7 separate regions of the Homo sapiens genome follow, and regions 1, 2, 3, 4, 5 and 7 are each linked to region 6. The links are contacts of gene promoters, found by promoter capture Hi-C in blood cells and fetal thymus (Javierre and others, 2016). All regions are on one chromosome and are shown on one strand. The core of a region is centred on a gene start or on the middle of the fragment in contact, and the rest is flanking DNA. Distances in the headings are between cores, read along the strand shown.

Region 1 (4,305 bases), core at 1,194-3,693, 340 kb before region 6:
TCTGGCCACACGCCTTCCCTGTGTTCTTTAGAATTGCTAAGCCACTTCTAATCACATCATTCTTTAAGCCTTGCTTAAGTGCCCAAGGACCACTTCAAACAAGCTCAAAGCTCCTTTGTAAACACTTGCATTGCATCTTTTATTTTTCTTTCCCAGCACTCCTCCACAATTAAAATTAATCATTTGTGTGACTGTTTCAGGTTGGTCTTCCTCTTATAATTATAAAAGAGGCCATTGGTACACGTTTCTGATCAGCACACCGCCTGGCAACTGCATTCACGGAATACATTTTTAAATGAAGTAAGCGCCAACATAAATTATATGAATATACAGATGGCTATCACACTGCCTTATAGGGAAAAGTAAGACTCTTCTGTTCAAGAATAACTGTTAGGTAGGTAGATGACTCTCAAGAGCTGAGTCTTCAATAAGGCTTTATTTAATTTCACAAACATTTCTGAAGGATTTATGGAGGTATCCCATCTTATGTGGTGACTAAATCCTACAGTTAGATATGAGGTAAAATTTGCACACAATCAAAATTAACCTCAGGAAAACATACCTTAAATTGCCAGCATCTAAGCCTTACACATTTTAATGCCTAGATTTTAACCTCTTTTCTCTTTTCAACTGATACCTCCCTTTCCCCAGAGGATATCAAGGTGTGGTTTGATACTGGCAATGTAGTATTCAAGGAATTTCTTTCTCTCTATTTGGGGGTGGGGGACGGGGACCAGTACATATGGTTTAATTAAGGAAGGCTAAATGTATATACGACACAAGACCACAGGGTGACTGAACATTAGGTACTGAGGATACAAAGATGTGAAAGGCAATCCCCATGTTCCTATAGGGTTCACATTCTAGCTAAAAAGAAAGTAATGTATAAGCAACCAAATAAAAATATTAATTCATATAAAATGTCTAAGCATTAAAAAGGAAAAGCATGTTGCAAAATCCTATTTTGCCTGTCAGAAGCTAAACACTGTTCTTTCTAGCAGCTTGCTTTCTGTAACCAAATCCTAACTTTCCCCTAAGCAGATGGAGTCCTAAGGCGAATTAGGGCAAAGTTAACGTGGTCACGGAGGCAACAGAGAAAAGAGTATTCATAATAAAATATTTCCCATACTACAAAAAAGAGGGGATTCAATAGAAAGGACAGCTCAGTGTAGGAAGAGGGAGGCACGTGCTCCGCTGAGGCAGGGGCTGTGAATAGAATGGTGGGTGGCTCCGCAGGCAGAAGACACAGCATCAGTAAAGACAGAATGTGGAGCATGCGCTGCAGGTGTACGGGGACCTGGCCAGGAGATCAAGGGAGTGCCTTTATCCAGGCATGCCTTCAGCACCTGTGTTAGGAATCTGGAGGTAACACCCTCATCAATGGGGAATGGAAGTTTTCAAGTAGGACAGTGATACATAACATGTCCTCCCATGAAAGATACAGCAGAAAGGAAGGACCTGAACCAGCTGAAGGCGACTTTGAAGACCACAGATGAGAAGGGCCTGAACTAAGGCTTGGGAAGGAAGTGAAGGAAAGAGTTTCAGACATACATCCCAAGAATAAAATTGGGCCTGTAATTCCAGCACTTTGGGAGGCCAATGCAGGAGGACCGCCTGAAGGCAGGAGTTCCGCCTGAAGGCAGGAGTTCAAGGCCAGCCTGAGCAACAGTGAGACTCTGTCTCTATAAAAAATAAAAATAAAAAGTTAGCTGGGCATGGTAGCAAGAGCCTGTAGCCCCAGCTACTCCAGAGGCTGACGTGGGAGGATCATTTGAGCCCAGGAATTTGAGGTTACAGTAAGCTATGATTGCACCACTGCACTCCAGCCTGGGTGACAAAGCAAGACTGCATCTCTTTAAAAAAAAAAGGATAAGGATTAAGTTGGAGGACTTGGCAGTCAACTGGATGTCAGAGTAAATTAGAGTTGAAGATTACTTTAGGTTTTGAGTTAGAGTAACTAAGGAATAGATACAAATATTAACTTATAAACATGCCACTGACTTTATAATTACTCAATGTATTTCTCAATACAGCAAAAGAAAAAAAAATTACAGTAAAAACAAAAATCAAGCTTACAAGCAGATAAAGCAGTCCTCTACGTTACAAAATACACCTTCCAAACAAAAGCAGCAGAAAGCTTACAGAATACATTAGAAAACATATAAAATCTTATGGTTACTGACTTCTAATATATTTTAAAATAATGCAGCATATTTTCACGGTAAAAAAATGGCGTAAGTGCTTGAGTGATTTTCTGGCAAAAATAATTAAATGTGTTTCAAGGAACTGCTGGTAAGTCAGAGCAAGAAAATCTAAAGTCTCATTTGGATTAAATTTGCTAAAAGCAGAAAGTGCTATTTAATATGACAGCTTCGGCCGGGTGCAGTGGCTAACACCTGTAATCCCAACACTTTGGGAGGCTGAGGTGGGCAGATCTTGAGGTCAGGAGTTCGAAACCAGACTGACCAACATGGTGAAACCCTGTCTCTAATACAAAAATCAGTCTGGCATGGTGGCGCATGCCTGTAATTCCCAGCTACTCAGGAGGCTGAGGCAGGAGAATCGCTTGAACTCGGGAGGCGGAGGTTGCAGTGAGCCGAGATCGCGCCATTGCACTTTAGCCTGGGCAAGAGAGAAAGACTCCATCTCAAAAACAAAAATAAAAAATAAGACAGCTTCTATAGCCAGACAATCTGCTCCTCTTCTGTGCTCATAACTATTAAGGAGAAAAAAAAATCACGGAAGCTTCCATCATTCTCTGCCAGAAGGCACTTGTGGAACAATCTGGAGTTCTAGCGAGCAGCCCTGTTCCACCTCCAGCCTCACCTGACCTATCTTCTTGGTTACAGTGATGCCCGACTGAACCTTTCGGAAGTGGTACATCAAATCTTCCTTTCTGGGGGGGGGCAAGGGTGTCCCTTTCTGCTGAGAAGTGAAACAGCAGCCACCAAGTCAGGGACAAAAAGCCTCATGTGAACAAGCAAGGGGCCTCCAGCTCTCGACGAGCCAGCTGAAAAGAGCGGGCTTCTACATGGAAATCCCTTAGTCTGCATCTTCACTGGCTAGCAATTGAAAGCTCTTGCATTTCAGCAGTGTTTGGCTGAGGACAGAAATGGGGTACAGGCTGAGTGCATCCAGGCTGGGGGCGGGGGGCAGGGGGCAGTGGGTAATGTGATGTCTCCCAGAGATGAGAGCTCCCAAGACAAGTTGGAAGCCCTCTGTACAGTTATGTACTGCCATGAAAAGGTCTTATCTGAAAACTAATCTTAAATAAGAAATATAGTCAAAGGAGGCAATGTAAACTCTAGAGGCTGTTATTTTCTGCAACATGATATACAATGGAGAATTAGATGGAAATGCGTGTATGGTTTACAAGATTAGTCATCTGGGATTCTACAACCTCTCATAGCAAAATTAGTATGTAATAACTCTGCCACAACATTTAGATTTAGAAATTCGCTAGAACACCTCAAAAAAACTATATATTTATTTCAAAATCAGGAGAGTCTGATAGGATATTCAGTTGTAGACCAGAGGCAAAAACCCTGGTCAAAAGCAGAAAAAAAAAAAAAGTGATATTAGAGGAACAAAACAGGGCAATACCTGCAGACCCCAGGAGAAAACAAAAGGGGATAATGAAGACAGCCAGGCCCAAAAAGTGTTCCTGGAAGCTACTGATCTCCAACCCAGCAATTCCAGCCTAATCCTATTTCTCAGGGCTCTAATCTATGCCCTGCATACCTGGACCCAGTCTGTACTCCAAAATTCATGGGAATGAAACTTAATTGGAAATGATAAAACCAATTCCAGTGCCAGGATTGCAGGAAAAGGGATCTATGAACACACACCCACCCACACATAGACAGACACACACACACACCCCATCATCCACATGGAGCCCAGAATGTTTTTTATTCATACAATCATTATTATGTATAATATTAAATACCATACATACAAATCATTAACATAGTTCTATGGGGGAATTACATATTAATTGGAATACTGCAGGTATATTGCAGATTATATAGGTTCTACGGACTCATTTGGGATTTAACCACCATTCACAACACGGATTCTACAGGACAATACAATCAGAGCTCCAGAGAACCAACTTTCCAACTTTTCAAGCATGACACATTTGTGCGTTAAGGACTGTCTGTACTTTCATGCTTGATTACCATTTTGACTCTATGTCAGCCAAAAAAGTCCATCTGAGCAACATTCGCTGAACCGACCCAAAGAAGATTTAAGGGGACACTCTGTAAATAATAAACTGTGAACCTCACAAGCTAGGTACTCCAT
Region 2 (4,225 bases), core at 556-3,055, 270 kb before region 6:
GAAGTCACACAGCCAAGCCTGACTTCAGCCGGGAGGGTCACCAGGGAATTGCCAATGGGATAAATACTTTGACAATAATACAATCTACCACATCTACTGTAAAGGGAAAACCAGCACCACTTGCTCTCAATAGAAGGTGACCACAAAAAGTAAATATTATGAAAACATGTAACTTTATTAAATTCTAGCCAAATAATTTTGCCTTCTGAAGGCACTAAGTCTGAGGCCCACTCTCAAACAGAAAGTTCGGAAGGGAGGCAGGTAAGTGTTAGAAAGGCGTTAATGTCATGTTCCTATCAAACTGAGACTGCCGCCTAGATGCCATCAGAATGATTGACAGAGAATGAAATGTTATTTGATACTGGGGTGCTGTGCCCACCAAGATCTCCCCACGAATCCCACTGGTATTTGTTCTATACTTTGGAAGACCCAGCTTCAGAATCGCTCTAGGGGAGTAGAGAAGGAAACTCAGTGTCTGAGGGAGGGATGATAATGACAGCCACCTGTTAGGGGTGCCGCTATGTTGCACAGTTTCATGAATGGGGCCCCTGAAGTTGTGCAACATGGCGGTCCTGGAGAGAATCTCTGCGGGTTACCTCATTTAATTCCCACCTCCGCTCTGCCAGGTAGGCAGGATTACCTCCATTTCGCAGCTGAAAAAACTCAGATTCAGGGAAGTTCAGTGCCTGGCTCAGGACCGCAGCTGGAGGGGTCGGGGAGAGGCTCTAACCCTCCGGCTTGAAGGTGTAGTTTCAGACTTGGCCACTTGGTGTCACTCTCTCCAAACTGTCGGAAGAACCTCTGAGCTGGCCGGTTTGTGGGGGACTCCGGGCCCAGCTAGTTGCACACTGATCCCCAGTCCGGCAAAGCGGCCCCTCCTGTCCTCCCTCCGCCCTGTCACCCTTGCGGGGTGCAGAATTTCTGCCTGTTCCCTGTTTGAACTGGGTCTCTGAGTACGCCTGAGCCAAGTACTTCACAGGCATGATCTCACTCGAGCCTGCCAGCAGCAATGTGGTCTCAGACTACAGATGAGGAAACTGAGGCCAACGGCGTAGGAGCAACTTGCCCAGCTAGTAAGTGGCAGTCAGAGTTTGAACTCAGGTCTGAGTTAGAAGCTTGGCGTTTTGATGCCCAGAAAGTGCATGGTAGGACAGTTGTATTAATTCTCGATTTTTCATAGAATATATTTCCAACCCACTCCTCAGTCTCTGTAATGTCCTTGGCAATGAAAATAATCTGCCTGTTTAGAGAAGTGTATGTGTTTTTGGTCTTTTCTTTTTTTCATGTAGAAGTTAGTTTTCCCCTGACTACCAAGAGAACACTGAGGTGTTTACTTACTTAATTTTTAAAAAAATTATCTGAATATACCTTGATAATTATTTATTTTATTTTATTTTATTTTATTTTAAGACGGAGTCTCGCTCTGTTGCCCAGGCTGGAGTGCAGTGGTGTGATCTGGGCTCACTGTAACCTCTGCCTCCCAGGTTCAAGTGATTCTCCTGCCTCAGCCTTCTGAGTAGCTGGGACTACAGGTGAGCACCACCACACCCAGCTAATTTTTTTTTTTTTTTGTATTTTTAGTAAAGACGCGGTTTCACTATGTTGCCCAGGCTGGTCTCAAACTCCTGGGCTCAAATGATCCTCCTGCCTCGGCCTCCTAGAGTGCTAGGATTTACAGGCATGGGCCACCACACCCGGCTGGTAATTATTTTTTTAAATTAGAAAATCTAAGTAAAAAGAACAAAATATAGCCAGAAGTGGTGGTGCATGCCTGTGGTCCCAGCTACTTGGGAGGCTGAAGCTGGAGGATCACTTGAGCCTAGAAGATCAAGGCTGCAGGGTGCTATGATTATGCCACTGTACTCTAGCCTAGGTGACAAAGTGAGACCCTGTCTCTGTATTTTTTAAAAAGAACAGACCGGGCACAGTGGCTCACACCTGTAATCCTAGCACTTTGGGAAGCTGAAACAGAGGGATCGTTTGAGCCCAGGAGTTCAAAACCAGCTTGGGCAACTTAGTGAGACTTCGTCTTTACAAAAAAAAATTTAATTAAAAATAAAAAATCAGCCAGGCATGGTGGCAAGTGCCTATAGTCCCAGCCACTCAGGAGGCTAAGCTGGGAGGATCACTTAAGCCCAGGAGGCAGAGGTTTCAATGAGTGGTGATCGCATCACTGCACTCCAGCCTGGGTGATAGAGCAAGATCTTGTCTCAAAATAAATAATTGATTAGAGAAATAATAAAAAAAGAACAAAATAAAAGTCGCTTCTAATTCACATCAGCCACCCAGAGATAAGTGCTATTGACACGTTGGAGCATATCCTTCAAGGCATTTTTCTCTCTGTCATCTATCAATGCATTAAAAAGTTCCATTTTTAAAAACTAACAAGGGATTGTATTCATATGCAAAAATTCAAAAGATACCAAAAGATTTACAGTGGGTCTTCTCCCTCTAATCCTTAACCCCCATCCCCAGCTTTAAAACTCCAAGCTTCCCTCCCCAGAATCCATTCTGGTTATCATTTCTTGGGGATCATTACAGAGACATCCAGAACACAGATAAGCAAATATGTGCGTGGATTCCTGTACTCATTTCTCTAAATAGAAGCACACCACACACCCTGTTCTGCACTGGGATTTTGTTTTTTTCAACTTAGCAATGTACCTTGGCAGATCTTTCCAGATCAGCACTAGGAGAGCATTCTTTGCACATTCCATTGTCTGAATATAATAATTTATCTAACAAGTTTTCTGGTGATAGTCACGGAGGTATTTCCAGGGTTTTTCTGCAACAAACAATGCTGCAATTAGTATCCCTTTCACAGAAGTCTTTCCATGTATTCAGAGCTATTTCTGATGGATACATTCTTAGCAACTGAATCGCCCAGTCATAGGGCAGGTGCGTTTAAACATTTTGACGCTGGTTGTCTAAATGCTCTCTAAGGTTGTACCTACCAATCGTCATTTGCACCGGCAACCTCCGTGAGCTCTGGTTTCCCCACGTCCTAGCCAAGGCCAAGTATGATTGGACTTCTTGATCTTGGCCTTGCCGATAGGGGAAAAAGGTGTTCACCATAGTTCTAATCTACATATTCATTGTTTATATGTTAGATTGGACATTTAAAAAATACGTTCAAAGACTGTTTATATTTCTTTTCTGGTGGCAAAGCATTCAAATTGTTAGTCTATTTTTCTCTTGGATAATTGTCTTTTTGTTGATCTGCTAGGGATTTTTATATACTAAGAAAATGAGGTATTTGTTTCTCATACATGTTATGAAAGTACATATTTTTAAAATATAGATATATCAGGCCGGGTGCAGTGGCTCACACCTGTAATCCAAGTACTTTAGGAGGCCAAGGTTGGAGGATCACTTGAGTCCAGGAGTTTGAAACCAGTCTGGGCAACATGGTAAAACCCTGTCTCTACTAAATATGATGGCAGGTGCCTGTAGTCCCAACTACTTGGAAGGTTGAGGTGGGAGGATTGCTTGAGCTTAGGAGGTGGAGGCTGCAGTGAGTCGTGTTCACTCCAGGCTGGTTAACAACCAAGATTCTCTCTCTCTCTCTGCGCGCGCGCGCGCACACACACACACACACACACACACACACACACACACACACACACACAGATAGAGTGTTTGTATACAATGTTTCTGAGGCCTGTGGTCATTTGATAATATATTGTGCATCCTTTCCCATATCTGTATTTCTTTGCAGCAAAATTATTTGTTGATAGTCAGTGAAAAAAATCACTCTGAGTACACTGGAAATTCATCAAACACAAGTGGCTATGAATTGCTATGAACACAGCAATAACAAGTATCCGAGAGGAGGCTTGTGAAGCATCTCGTATGTTTCATCTGTTTATGCACTTAATTTAATCCTAAGCATCTCGTATGTTTCATCTGTTTATGCACTTAATTTAATCCTAAGCATCTCGTATGTTTCATCTGTTTATGCACTTAATTTAATCCTCCCAACGAAACTGTGACATAAATAACATCATCCCCATTCCAGATGAGGAAACTGAGGCCCAGGAGAGTCATGGGATGTGTCCAAGGCCTCCCAGATGGTCAGTGGAAGATCTGAGATTCAAACCTATGTCAATTTGTCTTTGAAACATTGGCTACCGCCTTCCATGACCTTAAATTCCCACATTCCCAACTAGTCTGGATTAAACACCCGGAAGGTACGTCCTCATCCTCCCCTCCCACCACCCTGGGC
Region 3 (4,228 bases), core at 917-3,416, 330 kb before region 6:
GGCCTCTTTTCTCTGTGCAAAAGTTAGCCACAAAAATATTTATGACTCAGTGAAGGCGTATTTTCCCTTTATCCTTACAGAAGCAAACTAAGCCCTGACTATTTGAAAAGTGAAACAGTAGTTAACAGCGACAAATGTTCAAACATCAAGGAGAGTTAAAGCTAATTTACCATGTTATGCTAAATGCAGTTTGCTTATTTGTTCTCTTGAGTGAAGTTATATTCAGAAGTGACTTCATCCTTAGACATTTTTAAGTAACTCACGTTCTTAAGAGAACTCTATTTGGAATAATTACTTGATGTTCACTTTCCTGTAAGAAATTCGCAATAGTGTACAATCCTGTAACCGGGGCCCATCTGGATAAAAATTAGCTAAGCTGTTTGCTGTAATGTAACGTAGTGACTTTTAAGTAAGATTCTGCAAAAGGAAGAGAAGTGCCAATAAAAGATCCATTAAGAAAGGAAAAAAGTCGAAAAACGTTTCTTAACAGAGACAAGGGAAGAGTTTTCCTTTTCTAATCACTAAGAAATTTTTAAAAATTATTTTGAAAGCCTAGTTTTGCTATGCTCATCTTATCTTTGCAAGTGATGTTGCTCACCCACAAAAGCCACAAACACAGCCGAGGCTTCCTTCTTCATCTGTAAAAGTAAAATATACCTCAGTCTCTAGGAAGAAACATCTGAAAAGTAAAGAGAAGGAGACAGGGACACAAGCCTACTTGGGACCCAAAACTTTACTTCAAGTGGTTAATCCTCAAGAAGGATTTAGAATTTCCCAGCACTAGATTCAGAGTAGTAAAGAATACGTTTATTTCCCAGAGAAAATGCAGACCTTAAGTGTCCCTTTGCCATGTTTACTCTGAGTCCATATTACAGAGCTGACTTCAGAGCACTAATTCTATCTAATTACCATAGGGTATCCATAAAACCTTACTGCCTTAGTAAAACCATAAGCACTCAGTAAATCGAACGATGTCATACGTTTTTCTCTTAAAAAAAGGGCTGGGCCGGGCACAGTGGCTCACACCTGTAATCCCAACACTTTGGGAGCCTGAGGCAGACAGATGGCTTAAGCCCAGGAGTTCAAGACCAGCCTGGGCAACACAGCAAAATCCCATCTCTACTCCAAAAAAATACAAAAATTAGCTGGGCGTGATGGCACATGCCTGTAGTCTCAGCTACTTGGGAGCCTGAGGTGGGAGGATCACTTGAGCCCAGGAGGTGGAGGTTGCAGTGAGCCAAGATTGTGCCACTGCACTCCAGCCTGGACGACACAGCAAGACCCCATCTCAAAAAAAATATTAAAAAAATAAACTTTAAAAGGACTGAAAATCATTTATAAGTACTTGGTATTATTTTATTTGTAGTAGTGTGACTTGTACCAAAGCCCAGAGATCAATAGATTTGATGGCTACAGTTTTCTTTGGCTGTTTCAGGGCAGGAGGGAATCTTCCATGTGAAATGGTCTTATTTTCAGTTTTCATACAATCAAAATTTACAAGCTGTCAGCAAGATACTCATGATTATGTCAAGCTGCTTTGAAAAAGGAGAGGGCAGCAGCTATTAAACTCTAAAGACCATTTCTACACAAAGTAAAGCATTATTTCTAAAATGCTGGAGACTTAGGTACTTTCTTCTCAAATATGGCAGATGTGTAAACTATCATATTATTCAAATGAAACTTAGACCAGATGTAGGTTTCTTCCTAAAATTACAACATAAAGGGCAACTATTCTTTGCATACCTAGTTAGGGTTGAAGCTTTCGTAAATTCTCAAGAATCAGTTCCTCTATCTTTTACAGGAAAAGCCACCCAATTGCTACTTGAGAGAAAAACTGCAAAAGCATAGCGTACGTGTCAGGGCTACTCATTTTCCACATTACCAAGTCAAATGAACTCTATTTATCAAAAACATTTCATGCCCCTCGGGAAAAAACACCCCATTCTTTTGAGTTGTTAACTATACTCACAAAGCTCCTATAAACTTTTGAGCCTAATAGTACCCAACCACACCTTACAAAACTGAGTAACTGCTGCAGTTTTTACAAGGATTATTCAGGAACATTAAATTGTATTTGTGAGTACATTAAGGATTTTTATTACTTGACCTGAACTTAATGATCAGTTAGTCCAGGATCATTTTTACAAGGGAGAAACCAAAACCCAAAGAAAGTAAGGGACTCACTCAGCACTGTTAGTATGACAGCTGAGACTGCAACTATACCCAGACACAGGGGACACTAGAAAAAGCAAAACATGAAACTACTCTCTTGCCCCTAAGGGTGGTCTGATCAAAGGCCAAAGAATGTCATTACCATTTATAGTTTGAAAAAAAAAATCAAAGACTTGGTAACAGTCGTTATTTTATGGAGAACTATATTTTATATCCCAAAATCAAAAAGTATTTTATGAACCAACCACATGCAAAGGCCCGCTAGGCTTGTGAGAACCAGTCAGGAGGGATGAGGGAAGAGGAATTCAACAATTCTTAGAGAGACAAACATATTACCTCCAAGTTGCCTGTAAAGTTCACCGTAGGCCAAGCACAAATTTATTGTTATATTTAAAGCTTCTGTGAAACAAATCAGTGGTATCAGCTTCTACTGGCTAAGAATGCCAGCCTTTCTTCCAAAGCCACTGCAGCAGGCAATACTAAATTACCTCATTAGGCCATGACTCAAAATGTGGTGGGGGCCTTCTCCCAGAGTGACCTCTACTATTGGTACTAATGTGGGCTAATCTATTTGTTTCCATCATTGCCCCCCTAGAGTGGGAGCCAGGAACATGTTTTGTACATCTTTATACCATCAGGCTAGCAAAGTACTGACCATCAATTCAATCCCAACTCTTGTTAGGTACCTACTCTGTGCCAGGAGCAGAGGACTTCAAGATGAATGAGAAAGATACAACAGGTGGCCTCAGGAAGCTTGGGCTCCATTGGAGATAGACCTGGGATATAAAGTAGCAGCTACAGCTGGGCACAGTGTCTCATACCTATAATCCCAGCACTCTGGGAGGCCAAGGCAGGAGGATCACTTGAGCCCAGGAGTTTGAGACCAGCCTGGGCAATATAGTGAGACCTTGACTTTATAAAAATTTAAAAAAAAAATGTTTGTAAAGACGCAGCTACAATGACAGCAGGGCTTTAGAAGAGATATGTGCCAGCTTGTATGAAAACACACAGGTGACGGAACAAAACTCTGGTGCAAGGAAGCACACATTCGAGCTGGAAGATGCAAGCTAGATTGAACGGGAGAGGCATCCTCAACAAAGTGCTCAGCAATGGTATAGAGGAATGAAGGGCGAGGATGAGTTTGGAGAACGCTGCCCTTTCTTGTCTGGCTAGAATGGAAGCCACATAGGAGGGAAGGACTGGAAGCTGGCTGCCATGCTAAAGAGGAGTTTGGACTTTACAAGTGTTATGAAAGAATCAGAAGTAGTTGCAGAGGAGTGAGAGACTCAGATCTGGTTTTAGAACAATGAATTACTCTAGTGATGATGGGACCATATTAACGGGTAACCGGCTTCACTCATTTCTGCAGTGTGAAACTAGAAACCATTGCAGGCTCATAAGCAACATCTGAGAACCTAGACTACTAGTGTGGTGGAAAGGATGCCATAGTGACCAACCAGTGAAATGTGGCAGAGGGAATCACCAACTACTCCAAAGTCCCCAGCCCTCCTGGATACTCAAAATGTGAACATGGAATGGCTGGTGCCAAACTACATCATCTGGGAACAATGACCCAGCTAGAATTCCAATTTTCCTGAATATGGGCAGCATAAAGTAACATGCCCAGCCGATTTGCCAGTATTAGTTGTTACCAGAAACAAATCAGCATAAACACTGTAGGGAGGAATGCCAAATTGTGCAAAATATATATAGGCTCAGGCAGGCCTCAGAAAAAGTACCTGCTCACGCCTGCAATCCCAACTTCAGGAGGCCAAGGTGGGAGGATCGCTTGAAGCCAGGAGTTCAAGACCAACCTGGGCAACACAGCAAAACCCCATTTCTATTTAAAAGAAAGAAAGAAAGAAAAAGCAGTGCTAGGAACAGAAATTGCCAAAAGGATTCTGTAATCTACAAGATCACAAGACAGTTTTCTTTAACAAAGAGAAAAGGGAAAGAATCACACAACAAAAGGCCGTTATTTCAGTAGCTAAGTCAAAAAACCTCCACAGGAAATTTCTTATTCATTTCCACTGTGAAATTCAGTACACATTCAATT
Region 4 (4,081 bases), core at 940-3,439, 360 kb before region 6:
CAGTCTACTAAGGTAATGCTTTTATTATCACTCTATAGTTTTCGTATTAGTCACCAGACAAAAATTAGATATCAGAGTGTCAACATTTATTCAACAAATATAAAGGGCCTACTGTGTGTCAGGCACTGTTTTGAATATTGGAGCTACAGCAAAGAACCAAACATAAAAATTCCTTCCTTTATAGAATTTACCTTCTATGAGAGACAGAGAGAGACAGAGAGACAAAATATATGTCAGCTGATAAGTACTAAATTGAAAAATCAAGTAGAGGAAATAAAAGGAGAAGGTTGGGCAGATTATTTTTTTATAATAAGTAGGATGGTCACAAAAGACCTTCCAGTAAAAGTGACACTGGAACAGAGATCTGATGAAGGTGAGGGAGTGAGCCATGGGAATGTTTGGAGGGGAATATTCCAGGTAGGAGGACGCACGGCATGTCTGAGGAAGAGAAGAAAGCCATTGTGGTGGGAGTGAGGGGCAAAGTGGTGGAGATGAAGCTGCAGGTCAGGGAGAGCATGCTGGATCCCAGAACAGGTATATTAGCACTATACCTGGCTAGTTAAAAAAAAAAAAAAAATTTTTTTTTTCCTGTTTGTAGAGATGAGGTCTCATTATATTACCCAGTTTGAGGCTGGTCTCAAACTCCTGGGCTCAAATAATTCTCCAGTCTCAGCCTCCCATAGTGCTGAGATTACAGGCATGAGCCACTGCACCTGGCTGAGGATTTCTGATCACAGCAGTAAGTGGATCCCTTCTGGCTGCTACGCGCAGATGGGATTGCAGGGATCAATGGTGTAAGGAAGGATACAGTCAGGAAACTAAGGTAACAATGCAGCAAAGGATGCTGTGGCTGAAACCACAGTGACAGTAACAGAAGAGGTGAGAAGGGGTCAGTTTCTGGATAATTTATTAGAAATCAGTTTCTGGCGAATCCCTCATCTTTCTCTACTTTAGAATGGTATATGGAAAACACACACATACTCTGAGTACAAGTCTTTATATTTCATTTTGTAAGATAAAATGCCAGGCTTAGAGTCTTAAAATTGAGGGGTGATAGGACCTACGCAATTAAAGGTAACTATAACATTAATGGTTTGGAAGAAAGTAAGTAGACTACCGTACCGTAACAGCAAAACGAGATTTCTGTATTCTACAACTGTATCACAGGGGAGCTACGTTTCCAACAGCTATAGAAAAAGCAGATTCATGACTAATGAACACATTTAACTAGCCTTCCACTGCAAGCAAAAAATGTCCCTAGAAGATCTTTTATTATGCTAACCAAAGATTAAATAACTACTTCTAATCTACTGAATGTGTAAAATTTCCACAGAGAAAACAAAATAAAATAAAAGCCTTTAAAACCGATTAAGATGACTGCTGGGTAAACTGATGAGCCAAACCAAAAGGGAATAATAAACTTGCCATGAAACAGATTCCCAGAAGAGTCCCCTGAACAAAAACACTAAAGATGTCAGGAGTCATTCAGTGTGTGCCTCAGCATTTCAGGGCTGGATCACACTAAATTAGAAATTTTACCAATGGGAAATAGTATCAACAGGTAACAAACAGGTTCTTTACGGATCTCTCCTTCCCCCAGTCCACACCTCAGTGGTTTTTTAAGAGCCTCCTTTCTCTTAGTGTAGATTTCAGAAATGTGATAGAATAAAACGCCACACATCATAGATGTCAAATGTGTACGGCTCTCCCAGAGTGCACGCCTGATCATGTGCTCCTGAAGCAGGCTTGGGTGTGCCCAAAGCTTACAGGTAAATGGTTTCCATTTCACTGTATCATTTTACATAGGCATCAGGCACACAAAGTGATCTGAATCATTTCTGTGGTAAACCATTGTCATGAGAGAAAAAAGCAAGTCCTTCCAAAGTTATGATTTAGCTAGGCTAGGAAGATTCACAAGCACTTGATCAAGTTTAAACAAAGCATCTGCTGAGCTGGAGATTTTAAAAGGGGCAAGGAGGGGCAGAAACCTTCTTCACCTGAATAGTTTTTATAGCTCTTCCTCATTTCCCATCCTTCCCCACTCATTTAAGAAGGTAACAGATGATCTCCCAATGAACACAAAGGGGTAACATGCTTACAAAACTCTGGTAACAGAATGAATTAGAGCCTGGAGTTAATTAATTTTTATATTTATTCAGGAAAGCTCATTATCCATTATTCAGACACCTCCCAAACTCAATTAGGCAAAAAGTCAAACTTGGGTGAAAAGCTGGCAATATTTGATTAGAGATTTCTATTTCTCCTGAAAACACACAGGCATAAAAGCCAGTTTATCCTTGCGGAAATATTTCCATGTTTATATTAAGCACTTCATCAAGTGAAACATCACAATCTGGGTTTAACACCCTTCTCCTCGGTCCACAACTGGGTGAATGTCTCTTACGGGCTCCATGGTAAAATGCATTACTCATTTTAAAGCTATCTGCTAAGTGAAGAAGTAGAGGCAGCAACCCATTAGCAGCCAGGAGTCTGAGAAGAAGTGCTTTGGACTCTCATCTTAGTGTCCCCTCCTAACACAGGCCCAGGCCCAGGGTAGGCACTCAACATAATTTTGTTAACTGAATCAATGGATACTTCAAAGGTTCCCAAAGCTTGAAGTGTCCTTAACAATATACCAACATTCTTTATAGAACAGAAGTGCTCCTGAAAGGGAATGTGTATAAGCAAATATCTGATCCAATCCTATTTTCTCAATTACTTGTTACAAAATGGAAATTACTGAAATCACATTTATTTTATTTATTTGCAGTTGACCCACACAGCCTTCTGACCAAACAGTGTCAAAATAGTTACTAAAACATGGATTCAAAGCAGAAAGAGTAATTTTTGAAAGTGATCTCTGTTTTAAAAGTCTGAAGGAATAAAAAATTCCAAGGGTACCTTTTACTCACTGGAACTTCAGGGAACTACAAAGTCCCTTAGCACCCATCACATCTTCTAAGATCTCCCGGAACCTCCATTCTACAAATGGTTATCTAATTTGATTGTTCGGGTTGTTACCTGGTTCTTCAGGGAAGCTACTGGCTTTCAGAAATGTACAGACAGAGCTAGATTGAAGGGAAATGCAGAAATATAGTAAAGGCAATGATTTAAAATGCAGTAAGTGAACACACAGTGTACATTTCCTGGAACTCTTGCAGTAGTCGCTGAATAGGGAGATATATATAGAAGGGGGGGTGGGGTAACTAGCATAAAATTTTAGAAACCAGATCTTCAAAGTAATGCATGTTGAACAAATTTTGTTAATCACAAATCTCATTATAAATGAGAAAATTTCTATGTAACAAAGTATACTCCGAGGAATATACAAATCATCAGAGGTTCAATGTCTTCCAGGTCAAAAGCAATGCTATATATGAAAGTTAATGAAACGATATAATTTACTACAAAAACCTTAGGAAAATATTTTTATTATATTTATGTGTACATTCATATAAGCAATATGAAATAAATCATATACTTAATATGAAATGCTAAGATAAACTACACTGTTTAATAATAAAGAAAAAGCTTAAAATTAAGCTAATCAGTACCAAGTCTGTTTTGGTTTAAATTTTAAAATGACTATGTACTGAATAAGAACACATACTAAAAAGCAAACCAGAATCTTTTGGTTTGGTGATAGTTGAATGAAAGACAGGGGTTGAGGGGAGGAAGGGGCAAAACTGGTCAGCATTGAAAAGGCAGCAGGATACCAAGTAACTGTCCCTGCCACAGCTGGAGGAAGCGTTGGGTCCGCTTGTACAGTGGTCTGGGGCAAGGTTAATAGATAATGGAGCTACAAGTCACTAACAGAACAATTATGTGCACTTGGAAAACTACGTGGAAAAAAAACAATCAACTGCTTTACAAACTCCCCACAAATCAAGGGATAAGGGCAGGAATGAGGGCATGAAAAATGCTTCGTGAAACTGGCATGGAGACCTTCTGGTGGAGAGGGTGGGGCTGCTTTCACACTCTGATGTACACCCACTGCTCCAAATATAAAACAATGGTCAATTAAATTTAGAGAAAACCATAAAGGCACAGCTAGGCTCAAAAACAGCATGAGAATAAAAAC
Region 5 (3,933 bases), core at 40-2,539, 310 kb before region 6:
CGGCCTTCATGCAACTCTGTGTTTGGGTATGGAATGATCCTCTCATATTGGTCTTAGCAATCTGCACGTGTGTCTCTCTCAGCCCTCACAGTCGTGGATCCTGTAGTATTCATCTTGCTATGTCCCCAGGGCCTAGCCCAGGACCTGGGCGAGAAGAGGTGCTCCCTGAATGCTTGTCAAATAAATATATGAAGAATTAATCATCACATCCCATTTTATCACCTCCCTAAACAGAGTCATTTTCCCTCCCCACTGCCTTCCTGCATTCCTCTAGGGCAAGATGGTTCTTGCAGAGAGAGAGAGAGAGAGAGTGAGAATGAAGAAGAGGTTAACCCAATTGTCATTTCCAAAGCAGCTGTTAATCCCTGCCTTCTTAAATTACCCTTATTGTACCCACTTTCAGCCTCAATGTTGGGTCAGCACTGAGGCAACTCTGACTTTGGTCTCCTTTAAAAAAAAGGAAAAAGAAGGAAGGAGGGAGAGAAGGAAACTCTGCCTGTATTCAAACCATTTCAAGAAACATGGTTGAACTAAAGAGAGAAGCAATTTAAAGTGGGTGTTTTCACACGCAGAGCTGGAAGTTCTAGCATTGGAGGTAGGACATTTTTGTTGTTCTTATTTCTTTTTCTTATCACAAAAGGAATACTCATTTAATGAAGAAAACTTGAAAAGTGCATATAAAAGAGACACAACTTACTTTTTTTTTTTTTTTTTAAACGGAGTTTCACTCTTGCTACCCAGGCTGGAGTGCAATGGAGCGATCTTGGCTCACCGCAACCTCTGCCTCCCAGGTTCAAGCAATTCTCCTGCCTCAGCCTCCCTAGCAGCTGGGATTACAGGCACGCACCACCATGCCTGGATAATTTTGTATTTTTAGTAGAGACAGGGTTTCTCCATGTTGGTCAGGCTGGTCTCGAAATCCCGACCTCAGATGATCTGCCTGTCTCGGCCTCGCAAAGTGCTGGGATTACAGGCGTGAGCCACTGCGCCTGGCCCACAACTTACTTTTAACTCTTACTACCTGTGCTGGTCACTGCTCACGTGTTGTGTGTGTGTTTTTTGTTTTGTTTTGTTTTTGTTTGAGACGGAGTCTCACTCTGTCCCTCAGGCTGGAGTGCAGTGGTGCGATCTCGGCTCACTGCAAGCTCTGCCTCACGGGTTCACGCCATTCTCCTGCCTCAGCCTACCGAGTAGCTGGGACTACAGGCGCCCGCCACCATGCCCGGCTAATTTTTTTTTTGTATTTTTAGTAGAGACGGGGTTTCGCCGTGTTAGCCAGGACGGTCTCGATCTCCTGACCTTGTGATCTGCCCACCTCGGCCTCCCAAAGTGCTGGGATGACAGGCGTGAGCCACCGCGCCTGGCCACTGCTCACATTTTGGTAAGCACATTTTCACAAGTTCTTAGGTCTCTCTGTCACTTCATCTCGATCTTCATCCTCCCTTTATTCTAACCCCTCCCTTTCACTCTGTCTTTCTGAGGTCTCTGTCTCTCTCTTTCTCTTTTTATCAATTTTTTTTTTTTTTTTTTTTTTGGTGACAGAGTCTCACTCTGTTGCCCAGGCTGGAGTGGCACAATCTTGGCTCTTTGCAAGCTCTGTTTCCTGGGATCAAGTGATTCTCCTGCCTCAGCCTCCCAAGTAGCTGGGATTACAGGCATGTGCCACTACGCCCAGCTAACTTTTTGTATTTTTAGTAGAGACAGGGTTCACCATGTTGGCCAGGCTGGTCTTGAACTCCTGACCTCAGGTGATTCGCCCGCTCAGCCTCCCAAAGTGCGAAAGAGATAAATACCCCAGCTCCTTGCTTCTCAGGTATGGCAATGTGGAGGCATGGCCCTTACATGGGTGGGTTTGAGCCCCACTGGCCCACATGCTCATTCATGTCCCTTCCCAGACATTATTTGAAGACATTATTTGAAGACATCAGGAGCATTTTTACTGTTTAAGCCACTTTGGATTGGCTTGCTACTTGCAGTTGAGAGCATGCTAACTGGTACATGGTCTTTGTCTTCTGTCTCTATCTTCCTGTAGCCCTATGGGTCTGAAGTTCAGCCATATTCCTTCCCCAGAGCCCTAGTTGCCTTGGAAGTCAAGATCTTTTAGAAGCCACCTGCATCAACTTTTCACCACTGTCCTAAATCAGAAACTTCGTGGTCACTTCCCCACTCCTCACCTGCTGCCTCCAAGGATCTCCTCAGGAATAAATTACTTGCATTTAAATCCTTGTCTCAGAGTTGGCTTCTGGAGGAACTCAGATGAAGATGGCAGACTTATCACTTTTCCTTTTGTCTAACTAAAAGGCTTCAAATAGAAATCAATTATTCAACTGATTATGAATCCAAAAATTTCTGGCATATTTGAAAGAGCAGATCATCCCGACTTTTAGTCCTCAAGATATCAAAAATATTGCATCTCCATCTAGCACCTCCCCCCCCATTACACACCTGCTTTGTGCTAGGCACTTTACATGTGCAACAGGATGATGTTAGGGGTGCTCTGAGTCTCTTGGCCTAAGTTCAAAGGTCATTCAGCAGTTGGGGTCAGCCACCTTCCTTCACGGCTCGCTGTGGAGCCATTTCAGCAGAATGGCAGCCCATCCTTATGCCCATTCTACCGTGGGCGTCAAGGAGAAGGGGAAAGAGAGCACGTCTTGCTTCTCCTGCTCCCCCTACCCATTGTCCCAGCTCCAAGCCACTAGAATCATGAGTCTGGCTTGAACTGGGTGACATGGGGCCAGGGGATCTAAAAGAACTTTGAATCAGATCTGAGAATGAAGTTTTTTCCAAGGAAATTTATATTGAACTATAAAACACATACAGAAAAGTATATGTGTGTACATGCACACAGATATATCATAAGTGCACGGCTCAGTGAATTTCCCCAGACTAAACATGCTCACATAACCTGCACCCAGATCAAGATACAGAACTCTCCCAGCCCCTCAGAAAGCTACCTAGTAACCCTCCTAGTCACTACCCTTTGCCAAGGGTGACCACTATCCTGCTAACACCCTGGATTGCTTTTGCCTGTTTTTGAACTTCACATAAATGGAATCATGCCGTGCATGCTTTTTGGTGTCTGTCTTCGTTTGTTCGACATCATGACCATGAGACTGGGTCTCGTTGTGCTTCACTGGTTGAGACTGACATTCTAATTGGAGGAGATTTGGGTTTTAAGACCTGAAATAGACAGCTTTGGTAACCAAAGAGTCAGTCAGGCATGCTATGGAATTGTTGAGAGGCTGGTTGAGGAAGCCCATTCTTTAATAGCTCCGTGACTTTGGGCAACTCATTTAAGTTCTTTTTTCTCTATTTCTGTAAAATGGAGATAACTATTGGTCCCTACCTCAGAAGCTCATTGTGAAGATTTGGTGAGTAATATATGCCAAGAGCTTAGGCAAGTGCCTGGCACAGAGGCGGGGCCACCTGGGAGCTTGCCGCTACCTCTGCTCCTGCCTCTACTACCACTACTCTGTTATTCTGATCATTCCCCAGAGGGAAAAAGGAAATTTCAACAGAGACCATTTGGTAGCAATTATTGTAAAAATAAAGTGGTTTCGTAGTTACACCTCAACAAGTTGAGACGTACCCCTGAACCAGTTAGACATGTGTCACCTCAGTTAAAGTTCACATCAGCCCTGAGAAGTGAATGCTTGTTTGACAAATGAGGCAACTGAGGCTCAGAGGGAGAAGCAACGCACTCCCTCAACTCACTCCCACAGGGTTACAGAGCGAGCTGGTGGTGGAGCCAGGGTCTCTGTGACCCTGTGTGCTGTTCTCCTTGCCCTTTTACCTAATTCTCCTGCTGGAGCTGGTGGTCCTTAGGATGCACTGGGATGACCCCATTGGACTGCCTTTGGCATGACCTTCTAAAGCATGTGGTGCTGCTTTAGAACTTATCAAAATATTTTCTGTGTGGATTTCCCATCAGCC
Region 6 (4,210 bases), core at 518-3,017:
AGACGCCTCTTTTCTCATAGAAATAGATTATTTTTTATAATACAAAAAAAGACCAAAAAACAAAACAAAACAAAACATCAACAGCAACAAGCCCGTAGGAACATCTTTAAGCGATTACTCAGGGCCCGGCTGACAGTTACACGTGGGTTGCGTCAGTCCCGTGTACACACGCGTTCAGCCATGTTTAAACCGATTGCATCAACTTCGAAACCGGCCCGCCCGCCGGCGCCTGGAGAGGGGCAGAGGGAGAAGCAGAGAGTTTATCATTCATCTGTACACATAGACGTTTCTTCTTTAAATAACACCACGGGCGGGAGCCCCATCTGCATGTGCGGTTGGTTTGGACAAAAATATAGATATATATATATAATAAAATATTAAAATTACCGACGGGCTCCCCGCGCTGCCAAGTGCCCCAGTGCCAAAGTTTTGCCGGCGCCGCCGGGGGCGGGGGCGAGGGCGCGGGCGCGGGCGCTCCCCGGAGTCTCAGCCCCGGCCGGCAGGGGGACGCGCGCGGGGGCCGCGCTAGCAGTGGCCGGAGGAGGCGAGCAGGGGCTCGGGCAGCTGCTTGAACAAGTTCCGCAGGGTGCTGAGCTCGCGCGACAGCTGCTCCACCTTCTTCTGCAGCCGCTCGTTCTCGGCCGTGAGCTCCAGGACCTTGTGCTGCGTCTCCAGGTTGCGCATCTTGGCCTTGTCGCGGCTCTTGCGCACGGCGATGTTGTTGCGCTCGCGCCGGATCTTGTACTCGTCGCTGTGCTTGTCCACGGTCTTCTTGGCCTTGCTCTTGACCTGCGAGGGCGCCGGCGCGGCCCCCGCGTAGCAGGCGGTCGGGGGCGCCTTGGCGTCAGCGGGGCTCGGCGTGCCGGGCGGGCTGGACGAGGAGGACGTGGAGAGGCTCCCGCTGCTGCCGCTCGGCACCGCCTGGTAGCCGAGGTAAGCGCGCAGCGCGTACGGGAAGCCCGCCGCCATGCCTGCGCCGCCGCCCGGCGCCCCGGCCTCCTCCTTCCGCTTGCAGTCCGCGGGCTCGAAGCCCGGCTCCGCCTTGAGCTCGGCGGGCGGCGGCGGCGGCGGGGGCGGTGGGTGCAGGGGCGCGAAGCAGCCGGGGTGCAGCGCGCCCTTGGCGGCCCCCAGGCGCCCCAGGCTCACGTAGCCGTACTCGGCCGGCTTCTTGCAGTTCTTGCCCCCGTAGTCGTCGGAGAAGAGGTCGGAGAGGAAGTCGTGGTGCTGCCCGGAGGAGGCGGGCGCGGGGGCGGGCGCGGGCGGAGCCGCCTCGAAGGTGTCCGTGGCCGTGGCGGGCGCCGGGGCCTGCGGCGCGCCCAGCGGCTCCAGGTACGGGCTGAAGTCGATGGCGCGCTCGTGGTCGCCGATGCTGCCCAGCTCGCCGGCGGGGGGGCGCGGCCCGGGTCTGGCCGCGGGGGGCGCCGCGGGGGCCGCCTTGCCGCCGTACGCAGCAGCCAAGCAGTCCGCCTCGTAGTAGAAGTTGGCCACTTCCATGGATTTAAAGGCAGGCGGCGGCGGCGGCAGGGGGAGACATGCTGGGTCCCAGGCCACCAGGCGTTGCATGAACGCGGGTGCCCGGGGAGGGGGCCTGGGGCTGCCCGCTCCGGCCGGCCCGCAGGTGGCGCGGCCTCCCTGCTCTGAGCTGTCGCCGCTGCGTCGCTGCTGCTGCTGCCGCCGCTGCCGGGGTGGCCGCTATTAGTGAGGGGGCTGGTGGCTGGACCCTCGGGTGGGTCCCCTTCCCAGTCCCGTGCGCGGCTCTGACTCGCTAAAGTTTCTCCTGAGCCCGGTTATTTATAAGGGCGGCCCGTAGCAACCGCTGCGTCACGCCGGCCCCTCCCGCCGCGCCGCCGGGACGCGAAGGACACGGCCGCGGCCGCCCGAGACCCCCGGGAGGACGGCGGCAGGGCGCAGCGGAGGGACCGGGCACCCGGAGCGCGTTTTCGGGGGGCCCCCGGGACGCAGGGGCGGCCTCACGCCCCCTGCCCACCCCCGCCCGGCCGCCCCGGGATTGGGAGCGAGAGGGGGCGGTGCGACCCCGCCCCCGGACCGCCCCTCTGGGCTGGAGGCTGTCCTGGAAGGCGGGGGAATCGGAGGAGGGGGCGACCTGATCGCCTTCCCCCCGAGACGCGGCCCCGGCCCGCCCCCTGCTGGAGGAGGCGGAGGTTTCAGGAGGGCCGAGCAGAGCCCCGACGGCCGACCAGGGTCGGCTCCCCGGGCCGAACCCTGGAGACCCCAGCCCGCAGCTCTAGCTCCAGGAGAAGCGACCCATCTCCGTGGCCCTTCCTCCCGTAAACTCCCACCTCCTCCCCAGGTCCCCGGCTTTAGAAAGAAGACTTGACGCCTGTGACGACTCCCCTCTTAAGCCACAGACAATATGAGGACCCCGGGGGTCGGCGCGACCGGGCAGGATCGCGCCCCGCTTGGGGCTGGACCCTGGTCCACGGAGCCCCGCCCCTAGCCCCGCCCACCACACCTGCCGCCTGCTCGAGGCTTGGACACGCCCGGGTCTTCTCTTGCCCCGCGCTGCGCCACCCGACCTGGGCCCTGGGATGGGGCAGGGGCGGGGGGTGCTCGGCCCTGCCACACTGTGTGACCTTGGGTGAGTCACTTCACTTCTCCCAGCTGCAATCCATGAAGGGTGTCGCTACTGTCAGTGGTGGTGGCATTGTTCCCACCAGACTCCCAAACCTAAGGCTTACGTTGTGGGCTGCACATCAGAGAGAACGGGACCCCCACGGATTGTGCCAGTGGAGGCCCAGAGAGAGCATGGCGTGGCATACCAAGGTCACATGGCCGCATGTCCCCCATTCATCCCAAATGAAATGCCCTCATCTGAGCCCTAAGACCTATTGCCAGTCCCAGAGGCCAAAAACTTCTGTTTCTGAAGTTGCTAGGGAGGGACTTAAGCGAGGCCTCACGGGAGGGGGTGGTATGCAGGAAAGAGAAGGAAAGAGAAAGATAAGTTTTTACCAAGTCCCTGCCCTGTGCTTACGGTGGGCCTGCACCCCGAGGTTCAACTTTTTTCACCCCACCAGGAAGATGCTTTTGCTGCTGCCATTTCACAGACGGGAAAGCGACAACGGCCCGCCTGGACTTGAACACAGGCCCAAGGCCTTCTGACCACTTGCCCGCCTCTGCTGGGTAGGCTCAGGTTAGAGGGCCCTTTGCCCTCCCGGACCCATTCCTAGGCCATTGGGGCAGCTCCCTGGGCCCACCTCTCTGCCACTCCTAGCCCAGGCCACCTAGGCAGGAGCTCCCAGCCTGCCCGGGGCTGATCCCCAGCCCACTGACCCCAGCCCTGGCCCCAGCGGGCAGGCGGGCATTGCTCAACCTTTGGTGTTATCTGCTGAGCTGGGGTGACCTCCGCCCCCAAGAGCTGGAGAAATGACATCTCTGGGCACCCTTGGTGGGTAGGAGGCAGGGAGGGAGGGGATAAAACACTGGCCCAGCCTGCTGGCTTTCTGGGTCTTCCCAGCAGCCTCTGGGTTGGGGAGGGATCAAGGCCCAGAGGGGTGCGGCAGCTTCCCTAGGGCCACCCGGCCAGCCCTTCCTCACTGCAAAATGGGACACTCAGGGCTGAGCTAGAGGCCACGGCTTCTGAGAGGCCCTCCCTGTCCCACCTGCTAGTGAATTTCCTTCCCTATCGCCAGCCACCATTATCCTAGCTGTCTACCTCAGTCTCCCTGCAGGCTGCCACTTGGGGAGGGCTGGCCCACGAGGGACTCCTGAGCACAGCACGCTCAACATTTACCAGTGAAGGAATGCATTTGCTGTTCCCTGTGCACCAAGAACACTGTCACCCCACCTCTGCCCAAGGCAGCTCCTCAGGTCTCAGCCCAAAAGCTGCCTCCTCCGGGAAACCCTCCCTGACCTTCCCATGGGAAGTCTAGGCCCTCAGTCACTCCTCTCACACCCCTGCTTCATTTCCGTCACCATTCTCATTATAATCAGAATTATCTTGCCTGCCAGTCTTGCTGTCTGTCCCCACGGCCTTCACTACTGTGTCCCTGGTGCCTAGAACAGAGCCTGGTACATAGAAGGTGCTCGATGAATGGTGAGTGAATAAATGGAGGAGGCTGAGAAGAAGGAGAGGTTCCTCGTTAGCTGGGCTGTGTGACCTTAGGCAAAATGGCTCCCCTCTCTGAACCAAAGCACTCGCCCACGTTCCCTTTCTGGATTCTGAAGAGATGCAGGGAGATATGGGGGAACT
Region 7 (4,346 bases), core at 1,410-3,909, 380 kb before region 6:
TTATTAGAACACAGTACTTCACCAGGCCTCAAATTGAGTCCTATCTTGGGCTGGTACCAGAGGAACATGGCAGTGCCAACATGCTAGCATCTCTCATAGTTGCTGTTTCCACCATGAAGGCAGATGTTAAACAGTCCTTGGGGCCTTCCCAAACAAGTGGGCAAGTGGTGTTTGGAAAACCTATGAAAGACATCTACAGTAACCCTGTGACGGGTAATTTGGTTTCGCCAAAAATTATTAACACAGAGAACTAAGTAAGTAATTCTTAACACAGAGAACTAAGTACGAGAGAAAAATGAATTATATGGACCCTGTGATACAAAATGCAGTGTCTTGTGCATGAAAGCACCTGAAAGCAAACGGCAGCTTTAGTGAGGATTTCAGGAGGGAGATACGGGTGAGATTCTGCAATGGCCAATTAAACTCACCTTGCTTACTTCCCCCTTCTAAACAACAATCCCAACCCTTACGCCATGGTGCAGCCTACACTGAGGTGTCTAAAGTCAATCCTTAAACAGAACCAGTGAGAACTCTAGCCATCTGGATGACCCCAGTCTAACACACACAATCATCTTCTGCATAACTGGTTTCCAGGAAGCCCAGGGTCCCAAAAGATAACAGGCATGTTTGCCAAAAATAAGAGGGAGCATCCTACACTATTTGGTGAAGGAAGGAAATCAGAAGACAAGTATGCATTAAATGAAAACTCCCCAAAAGCTGGTTTTACCACAAGCTGTGTGGATCATTTATAATTAGATTAGCTGAGCAAATAAGATACTGTAACTTCTCATGATTTCTCCCAGCCAGCCCTCTGGGAGGGATAATGCTGATACAGAATTGAAAATGTTGATCCCAAAGAAACTTTAACAATCTCAAACCATACATTGCTTTTCATGCCAATCTGCACGCCCAAGTAATCCTCCAGTGGAATGGGATACTTAACAAAGGAAAGCAGGGACTGCTGGCACAGTTATCACAGTAAACTACAGCAAAGCCAACCAGCCATGTTCTCGATGCCACCACAGTAACCCAAAGGGAAAGGTTGTCACAGTGGATCTGTGGGCCATTTGTGGTCAGTCTTGAGTGGGAGACAATGAAGCACAGGGCCTGGTGAGGCTGGAACACATAACTACAGCACTGGACACTGCTCAAATACATAACTACAGCGCTGGACACCACTCCTTGCTGTAATGTGACAACAATTGCTAAAGCAAACCTTGTGCTCACAGCAAAGAGGTTTTGCCAAACACTTAGCAACAAAGAAATAAATAAGAAGCAAATGCTACTATATCTGGTAATTTCTGAATAAATGTCTTGATTTAAAATTCCCAACCCTCAATACCATCTAGAGCGGTGGTTCTCAACCGGGGGCAATTTGGCCTACCAGGGGACGTTGGACAAAGTCTGGAGTCTAGACAGAAACACATCTGACTGCCACATCTGGGGAGGGGGTGCTACTGGCATCTGGTGGATAGAGGCCAGAGATGCTGCTAAACTTCCTACAGCGCCCAGCACAGCCACTCCCTGCCCGGATCCCTAGCAGACAATGATCCAGCCCAAGTGTCAGTAGTGCTGAGGGTCAGAAGCCTGCAGATGGAGCTATGCTGAAGGCTTCCACAGGCCACCAGGCTTCCCCTTCCCTCTAAGACAGTGTGTGCTGTGAGCACCTGATGCTTTGTTTCTTTACTCAAAATTGCTGACTAGTGGTGAAGGGTGGGGGTTTGCTTCACATTTGTAACTTCACATTTTACTAATCAAGCTACTAAGGAGGGAAGAAAAAATTTAAAAACCACCTTTCACTGAAAAAGTTTTTTTCTAAGACAAGATACATTATATCATCAACAGAACACTTAGGCAAGCTCCCTGTCTGTTATTGTTGGGCAAATAAACACTTTCATTTTTTAAAAAGTAGGCAAGGGTAAAAAACCCCCAAAAAACCCCAACCCCAAAACAAAACAAACCAAACCCCTATGATTTTAAACACGCGCTGTCCTAAGAGGAAGACTTTCTGCGAGTAACTAAAGCCGTTTCTTTGTGTGTGGTGGAGGCAGAGGCTTCGTGGTTAATGCTTCAAGTTTTCACTGCTGAAGTTTCCTTTGATGTGTTCCTTCTTAACACTTGGATTTTTTACATTCTAGGGCCATGACTGTGCTTTTTTTGGAAAGGTGGCCTCTCTGGAGCCCTCACCTTCTTCTGTGGCCGGAGGCAACCAGGACAGCTGTGAGAGCCGTGTCCTAGCTGAGCCTGGACCTGGCAAGGCCCAAGGACACCCAGTTCCCTGCTCCTGGGCCACACGCTCCTGCTGGTCTCCACGATCCTCAGCCCATCTCCTCCTGGACCCCGCAGCAGGGTTGGCAGTGTTGGGGAGCAGCGAGGGCAGGGAGGCCGAGGAGCCTGTGGCCCTGCTGAACACTGGCCTGCGCCTGCACAGGCAGATGGTCTAAATGGGATGGTCTACACAGGATGGTCTACACAGACAATCTACACAGGACGGTCTACAGAGACAGTCTACACAGGACAGTCTATACACGACGGTCTACAGAGACAGTCTACACAGGACAGTCTATACACGACGGTCTACAGAGACAGTCTACACAGACAATCTACACAGGACAGTCTACACAGGACAGTCTACACAGACAATCTACACAGGACAGTTTACATGGACAGTCTACACAGGACAGTCTACACAGACAATCTACACAGGACAGTCTACACAGACAATCTACACAGGACAGTCTACACAGGACAGTCTACACAGGAGGCCGGCTGCCCAGAAATCGGCTATTCTCAGCTATTCCAACAGAGTGAGGAGGGCAGGGGAGAATGCAGGCAGTTGGGGAGCTGGGGGCAGCCGTCCAGGGGTGCCTGCAAGTGGGATGAACGTGGGCACTGGGACTCCTCGGCCCAGAGAACATGGTAAGAAACTAAAAACAGAAAACTTTGTCCTGGCTAAAGTTCCAAGAGTGGTGAGAGGTCTGTGTCCAGGGGCCTAGGGCCAGACCTGCAGGGTTCCGTAAGCCACACCATGTATTATCCTGTGAGGCAAAGGGAACCGCACAAGGGTTTTCAGCTGGGAAGAACCGTGGTGAGACTTGGATTTGAGAAAGCTCATTCTGAAAGCATGGTACAAAATGAACTATGGTAAGTCAAGAAGGAGAGGTGGCTAGACCCAGATGCAAGAGGAGTGGTGGCCTGCACAAATGGACACCGTGCAGCCACACGCTAGCCCGAGGGGTGTTTGAAAAGTTGCAGGAACTTAGAATGACACACATCCTGAAGTCAATGCTCACTCCGAAGAGGTGTGGCAGGGCAAGAGTCTAGGTACTGAATGGAGGCAAATCTCATCTAGTCAGCCGCTCCCACAGCTCCGCAGAGGTAGCCACACTCTCACCAGCCAAAAAATCAGACACCATGAAGATGCACTAAGAACTTGCTTTTCAAGATAAAAGCAGGTCTCCATAACTCCACACACAACTCCACACTGTGATGAGAGCCGCACAGGCAGCACAGGTGGGCGGAGCGCCACACGCACCACACAGGAGAAGGCGGGGGCGAAGAGGTCCGTGCAGTTCTTCCGCCTCCTCCCTTTTATTCACTTCATTAACTGGTTGACAACCAACATGCATTTATATGCTGCTGTTTTAATTTTTTTAAATAAAAATACTACGTAAAGGAAATACAAAGGCAAGAAAAATAATTTAAAAATCTGGACGAAAATGGTAACTATATGGAGTGGTATGCATGATCACATACACAGCAAATGAAGCCGAGACTTACCGAACCTTTCTCCATCACTCTGTTGAGCATGACGACACCCCTGCTTTTCTGCTCCCACACCATCTCCCAAAAGTGACCGCATGTGTTAGGCAAAGGGCCCTGCAAAGACACAATAACACAACATGTGACATCTGAAACATAACATGCTACAGCGTGTGCTCACCTTCTGCAGTCAGCTAACGACAGCGCCCTCAGTCCCCACAGCTTAGGCAGAGTGGTGGCTGAGGCTGGGACAGGGACCCACCTCTCTCTGCCTGGTGGTCAGTAACTGCAGCTCCATTTTCTACCAGGCAGCGAAAGGCGATTTCCGCATCTCAGTTCAGGGCTGGGCCAACCAAGGACAGAAAAATGCCGATTCTGCTTTCTGGCTCAGGCAGGCCCGCTAAGGGCCTCCACTGAGATTCGTCCCCAAGGCCCTTGGGCTATGGGACAAAACTCCTTGGTGCAGATGAGAGGCAGTGTGGGGGCGTGGCCAACCACAACACTTCTCTTGGTTCCAATCACATCATCTTGTGACCTTGCGCAAGTCACTTCATCGCTCCCTGCCCCAGTTTCCCCATCGCTTA

The links. The method cuts DNA at HindIII sites, captures the fragments that hold promoters and counts their contacts. A CHiCAGO score of 5 or more calls a contact.
Region 1: a contact is called between a fragment that was not itself captured here and the fragment with the promoter of CEBPB in region 6, in 1 of 17 cell types (monocytes). The highest score is 9.3, in monocytes.
Region 2: a fragment that was not itself captured here is called in contact with the fragment with the promoter of CEBPB in region 6 in 17 of 17 cell types (neutrophils, monocytes, total CD8 T cells and 14 more); the score reaches 31.7 in neutrophils.
Region 3: a fragment that was not itself captured here is called in contact with the fragment with the promoter of CEBPB in region 6 in 3 of 17 cell types (monocytes, neutrophils and fetal thymus); the score reaches 8.2 in monocytes.
Region 4: a fragment that was not itself captured here is called in contact with the fragment with the promoter of CEBPB in region 6 in 2 of 17 cell types (monocytes and total CD4 T cells); the score reaches 6.3 in monocytes.
Region 5: a contact is called between a fragment that was not itself captured here and the fragment with the promoter of CEBPB in region 6, in 3 of 17 cell types (neutrophils, monocytes and naive CD4 T cells). The highest score is 10.7, in neutrophils.
Region 7: a contact is called between a fragment that was not itself captured here and the fragment with the promoter of CEBPB in region 6, in 3 of 17 cell types (naive CD4 T cells, naive CD8 T cells and monocytes). The highest score is 6.7, in naive CD4 T cells.

The regions. Positions count from the first base shown.
Region 1 is chr20:50,532,293-50,536,597 of GRCh38, reverse strand. All of the region lies in intron 1 of PTPN1 (protein tyrosine phosphatase non-receptor type 1), which reads right to left. Among named protein-coding and RNA genes, the nearest start is that of PTPN1, 24 kb to the right of the region's middle. The HindIII fragment of the contact is 608 bases long and covers 2,140-2,747 here.
Region 2 is chr20:50,460,971-50,465,195 of GRCh38, reverse strand. No RefSeq gene overlaps it. Among named protein-coding and RNA genes, the nearest start is that of PTPN1, 47 kb to the left of the region's middle. RefSeq lists a silencer at 4,174-4,225. The HindIII fragment of the contact is 1,375 bases long and covers 1,118-2,492 here.
Region 3 is chr20:50,514,335-50,518,562 of GRCh38, reverse strand. The region is part of intron 1 of PTPN1 (protein tyrosine phosphatase non-receptor type 1); the gene reads right to left. Among named protein-coding and RNA genes, the nearest start is that of PTPN1, 6.1 kb to the right of the region's middle. The HindIII fragment of the contact is 809 bases long and covers 1,762-2,570 here.
Region 4 is chr20:50,549,185-50,553,265 of GRCh38, reverse strand. All of the region lies in intron 1 of PTPN1 (protein tyrosine phosphatase non-receptor type 1), which reads right to left. Among named protein-coding and RNA genes, the nearest start is that of MIR645, 35 kb to the left of the region's middle. The HindIII fragment of the contact is 850 bases long and covers 1,765-2,614 here.
Region 5 is chr20:50,493,255-50,497,187 of GRCh38, reverse strand. No RefSeq gene overlaps it. Among named protein-coding and RNA genes, the nearest start is that of PTPN1, 15 kb to the left of the region's middle. The HindIII fragment of the contact is 8,989 bases long and covers 1-3,933 here.
Region 6 is chr20:50,188,387-50,192,596 of GRCh38, reverse strand. CEBPB (CCAAT enhancer binding protein beta) reads right to left here and starts at 1,767. Exons shown (of 1, transcript NM_005194.4): 1 at 1-1,767. The coding sequence starts at 1,563. The coding sequence ends at 526. It overlaps CEBPB-AS1 (CEBPB antisense RNA 1), which reads left to right and starts at 528. Exons shown (of 7, transcript NR_125739.1): 1 at 528-933; 2 at 1,175-1,329; 3 at 2,312-2,599; 4 at 3,036-3,141; 5 at 3,970-4,054. RefSeq lists silencers at 425-534, 955-1,394, 1,535-1,744, 1,571-1,865, 1,825-2,234. The HindIII fragment of the contact is 16,423 bases long and covers 1-4,210 here.
Region 7 is chr20:50,567,913-50,572,258 of GRCh38, reverse strand. PTPN1 (protein tyrosine phosphatase non-receptor type 1) reads right to left here. Exons shown (of 10, transcript NM_002827.4): 4 at 3,781-3,879. Among named protein-coding and RNA genes, the nearest start is that of MIR645, 16 kb to the left of the region's middle. The HindIII fragment of the contact is 9,665 bases long and covers 1-4,346 here.